Regions from separate parts of the Homo sapiens genome. Here region 2 is linked to region 1. The links are contacts of gene promoters, found by promoter capture Hi-C in blood cells and fetal thymus (Javierre and others, 2016). All regions are on one chromosome and are shown on one strand. Each heading gives the region's core, a stretch centred on a gene start or on the middle of the fragment in contact. The rest is flanking DNA. Distances are from core to core; before and after follow the strand shown. Region 1 holds the start of KERA (keratocan). Region 2 has its middle 53 kb from the start of LINC02458.

What was found. Contacts are between HindIII fragments. The CHiCAGO score rates a contact against its expected background, and 5 or more counts as called.
Region 2: a contact is called between a fragment that was not itself captured here and the fragment with the promoter of KERA in region 1, in 1 of 17 cell types (total B cells). The highest score is 6.4, in total B cells.

Annotation. Positions count from the first base shown.
Region 1 is chr12:91,056,696-91,059,395 of GRCh38, reverse strand. KERA (keratocan) reads left to right here and starts at 1,372. Exons shown (of 3, transcript NM_007035.4): 1 at 1,372-1,652. The HindIII fragment of the contact is 7,392 bases long and covers 1-2,700 here.
Region 2 is chr12:88,965,236-88,967,935 of GRCh38, reverse strand. No RefSeq gene overlaps it. Among named protein-coding and RNA genes, the nearest start is that of LINC02458, 53 kb to the left of the region's middle. The HindIII fragment of the contact is 1,304 bases long and covers 739-2,042 here.

The sequences.
Region 1 (2,700 bases), core at 123-2,622:
TCAGTTTGGCTAAAAAAATCAACAGTAAGACAATAGCTGGAAGAGGGCCATGCAGATTTGAAGATCATCTGTTGTTTAAATCCTGAGGGTTTAGGAAAAGGAGAGGGAGAAATGCAACAGAGAGAGGAGACAATTGTTGTGAGAAAGCAAGTAACACTTGGTTGTCTTCTTAAAATGTGATGTGAGTACACCTACATACCTATAGGACTAGTAAAAAATCATGTCAAAATAGGATCTCAATCTATAAAAACCCTTTAATATAAATGCATTTTCCAGTTGAGAGTGTAGGGCTAATTCCAAATAAGGCTATTATTTCTGTAATTGTTTATAACAAACTAGACCTAACTCTGTGAAGCAATCCATTACTATTTTGTAGATGACAAAACTGAACTTTAATTTACCCTCCTATGGTTAGGAGAGAGGAAAGAGGTGGTTCACAAAAGGTCCTCTGAATCCAATGCTTAATCCTCTTCACGGTGCTCTTTGACAATACTCATGTGAGCTGTTAAATGAGTCATATAACATTCACTGAAGCTAGAATAAGAGAGATTTTGAAAAACAAAACAACAATCAATCCACATAATAACACCTAAATGAAATATTTTTTGTTTGCATCTTTTCTCAAGAAGCATAATTTTTTTTCATCAAGTATCAGAAGTGGAGGACACACTACTTTAGATATGTGTTAAAGAAAAAAGTAGCAGTGTAACAGAATGTCTCATAAGGGACTATATGCAAAACATGTGTTATATTATAATGAATAAAAAATTATCCCACCTTAGCAGGTACTTGGAATAAATTGTTAAAAGAAATATAATAGGAAATAGGGATACAAAAATTATTTCTCTGAAAAAAAGCATAATACCAAGATTAGCACCAAAATCAGGTAGTGCTTTCCAGATATCACATTTACATTTTTTCAAATACATATATTTATTTATTTTTCCCTTAGTCAAACACATTACAGCATCTATTTTATATCAGGAACAGATAAAATATGTCCATATAAACAGAAGACATTGGCTTTTAATTATTTGTATTCAATTTTTAAGAAATGATCATCTAGGGAAAATGTTTTAAAATCTTTTAAAATATCTTTTTGTTATACTTTAAAACTGCCTTCAGCTGCCTATTGGTAAATAAGGTCTGGATATCAGTACATGACAACATATACTAATGAATTGAACTGTGAATTAGGAATGAAAATTGCCTAGAAATTTTTTTATGAGTTATTAGGATTAAAGTAAGAATTTCCTTTGCTGGGCTGTGTAGGCACTAAGATTCCGTGGTTGTTGGAGGGGTTAAATTTGGATCTACTAGTGCATATATTTTACCGAGGATTCATAAAAACACGACAGTGGAGCCTGGGTCAATCCATTACCATGTACAAGCAGTGACCAATAGAAAAGGAAGAAGAAGATCCAAGAAGGCTGAGGTAAGCAGTCTTCTGAAGCCCTGTCAAAGTGGAAACAATAGATCAAAGGTGTTCATGGTGACTGGGACGAGTAGGTTTCACTGTTTCTCATAGACGACTTGACAGCTTAAAGTAAAAACAAATTATTTTCGTCAAAGTTTTTTTTTTTCTCTTAACTGATTTTTAGCAAACCTCAGACTGAGACACAGGACTCAACGGTGTATTCCTGGAAGGCAAGGTAAACTATTTTGCACTTTTAAAAACTCTTAAAGTTAAGCATGCAAAGTACTTATTCAACAGACGCAGGGTTACAACTTCAATAACTAAACCAAAACCCTATTCTGAAAAAGAAAAAAAAAAATGATGTTTCTTTGTTGGAACATGGCCAGAGCAGCGTTCTGCAATCCTAGAAAATTTGACAGCTTGCAGAAGCAGTTCTGCACTTGTTTTCTGCAATTTAATGGCAAAATTGAATGATCAGCATTTCATAAATGAAGTTGACTTTATCTTTTCCTAAGGAATCAGTAAAATTTATTTCATCCTATTATCAATCAGTTCAATAAATGTACATTGGTCAGAATGTTACTGATATATATATATATATATAAATATATATGTAACATATGTATGCTATAAATTATTAAAATATATATGTATATTTCCTGTTAAAATAATTATTTGTACCAATAATCTTTGATGATCAGTGGGGAGGGTTTATGTGTTTTAAATGTATCAAATATTAGTAAACGCTAACCTACTTTCCATTATCCACACTGATAATATGAATATAAAGAAATTCTCCACCCGTATCCTAAATATGTTTTTGGTTGTTTTTGTTTCTTATCAACCATAATAATGGCATAGTTGAATACAATACTCATGTACTTGTGCTATACATCACAATGTATTCAACTCTATATAATAAACTCTATCTCTATATATACATATATATACATATATAGAGACAGAATATACATATTCTCTGAGAGAGAGAGAGAGAGAGAAAGGGAGAGAGAGAGAGAATTGATAATTCAATAGCTTGGCTGAACAACTTAATTGTGTGCTTAAAATTATAGACATCTTCCCCCACCCTCAAAAAACTTACTTGAGAGGTTGAGCTAGAGAATAACAGATTAATTACATTTTTATTCAGATCCTAGAACCTTCCTTCACCATAAAGTGCTAAAATGTTCTTTGATCCCTTCATTCCTTTGGTTCAAGGGCCAAAAGGCCTAGGAAATCTCATCCAGATGTTCTGCTCATTTAAGAGTAAAAGTAAAAGCATA
Region 2 (2,700 bases), core at 141-2,640, 2.1 Mb after region 1:
GCCTTGTGGAATACAATTAATGCAGTACTCAGATAAAATGTTATGATATGGTTTGGCTCTGTGTCCACCCCCTAAATCTCACGTCGAATTGTAATCCCCACATGTGAAGGGAGAGACCTGGTGGGAGGTGACTGGATCATGGGGGTGGTCTCCCTCATGTTGTTCTTGTGATAGTGAGTTCTCACGAGATCTAACTGTTTAAAAGTGGTACTTTTCCCTTAGCTTTCTGTCTCTCCTGCTGCCATGTGAGACATGTCTTGCTTCCCCTTCATCTTCTGCCATGATTGTAAGTTCCATGAGGCCTCCCAGCCATGCTGAACTGCGAGTCAATTAAATCTCTTTTCTTTATAAATCACCCAGTCTCAAGCAGTTCCTTATAGCAGTGTGAAAATGGACTAATTTGTAGTCCTGTTGTAACTCTAATTTCTTTTATTAGGAAAAAAGATGTGAAAATTAATGAACTAAGCATCTCTTTCAGTCGGTTTTGCTACAGTAACATACCACCATGAATCTCAGTGTGTTACACTGACAAAAATGTATTTCCTTTTCACATTACATGTAGATGTGAGTCAGATACTGCTCTGCCCCAGTGTTGTTCTTCCCTGCAGCTTGCTTCATGTGTTTTATCATTCCAAGACCCAGGTTGAAGGAACTACTGTGGAGACCAATCTATTCTTGTTCCTAATGGTAGGGTGAAGAACAAGATAGGTGTTGGAAAGTCATTTGTACCTTAAAGCTTCTCCCCAGAACTGGAACATTGTCTAGTCTATGCCCAATATCAAGGTCTATGGATTGAGGTGTTTTCCAAGGAAATATACTACTATCTGCTATCTTAATAAAAAAATAAGTTTCTTTGTTTCTACAATCAAAATATATTAACTCCCTCCCCTAATGAAGAAATCCTAATATCAGATTCAAGGTCAATACCTAGGGTCTCATGATAGTGTCTCCATTGAGTGAAGATCTAGAGATCTAACACATAAAAAGGCACTGCCCTCAAATACAGGATCATGGGACAGTGAACAATTACTGCAAAAACTACTCCCATTGGAAAGAGGATAAGAAATGTTATGTGATTAGGCCTTTATTTTGCCCAGTCTATATTCCATGGTGCCAAGCACTTCTCTCCAGAAGAGTTATTTTCTATTTTCCTCCTTGGCCATATCTCAAAAGGGTATTGAATAATATGCATCTTTGGGGGCTGAGCAGCTTGTTAAGCCTGCTCCTTTCTCCTAGAAAGCTGGAAGCCCAAAAGTTGTTTTATATTTTAACAGTTACAGTCTATTTTAATCCAGGCTATTGGAACTTTTGGCATTATAACTCTCTGAAAAACATGATTGTTTTTTCAATGAATTGATTTTAATCAGCAACATATTCAAATAGCTACACCTCTGTTATTTGGAAATGTGCCTTTCTCTCCAGACTTACTTATAAATAATGTGAGCTACCCAGCTTCAAGGAAACTGTTGGCATCTCTTTCTTCTAAGTCATTTTGTCCAACTGGCATAATTTTCTAGTAGTCATCTTAAACCATTCATAGTTTTTAACAAAGGATATGAATGGCAATGTCCTTTATTTGGACATGTGTTTTAATCTGAGATTTTGTTGCTCAAAGCATTTATTTTCTACTAATTAAAAAAATTATGTTTTCCTATCCGTCAGTCCCTAGAATCTGGTTACTCTAATTTCTGCTTCTTCCCTGCTTGCAAAGCAACCTATTCTTCTCTGAGCTCTTATGGCAATTCAGAGGAAAAGGTAACATTAGTAATATTCTGTTGTGAAACTCCTTCCAAAGCCACTCTTTAATAGGTAGATCTATTATCTGTTTTCTGAGTTATTAAAGGTGACAGTTTGCTAAATATTTTGCCATTGCATATCATGGGTCATCATCGTTCCAGCCTCTGAAAATAGTATCTTTACAACTTGTCTCTTGGCCTCAAAGTCAAGACACAGATTTTCAATTGTTATAGGAGTACCTATCTTTGAGATACTAAGATTTGTTTTAATCAACTTTGCTATAGTAAGAAATGGGCTCAAAAGCTTAGCACTTATACCAACAAAAAATAATTTCTTGTTCATGTTACACTGAATCTTGGCTCAGCTATAGCTCTGCTAGATGTTTAAGTAGGGTGGGTTTTGCTCTAATGTCTTCCCAGTCCATGATCCAAGCTGCAAGTCCAGCTTTTGTGCTAGGAATTCACAATATCTCCTAAGAGTTGTGCTCAGAATTGGTAGTTAAAGAACCGACATCTTGTTCCTTCTGCTTACATTCCATTATCCCAAACAAGTTCTAGAGGTCAGACCAAAATTAGTGGGCAGAGAAGTAGAGCCCTTTCCATAAAGAAGGATGAGATAATCATATCTTTATAAAGAAGGATAAAATGATCACACATGCTCCCATTTTATACAATTTGAAAGAGAATAACAGAATAAACCACCCCTTAAAAATGAAGAGTCATTAACAAACAACAGAAATAAATTTAATTGAAAACAAACATATCAAAAATTAACCAAATGCAATCTTTTTAAAGAGAACTAATAAAAGTGAGAAGCCTCTGGCAAGGTTGGCCAAGTAAAATGAGAGAAGGCAAAATAAACAATGTTAAGAGTGGAAAAGGGGCTACAACCAAAGATGTGGCCAAGATTACAAAGATATAAGAAAATCAGATCAACAGTTTGACTGGAAAATTTAGAAAACAT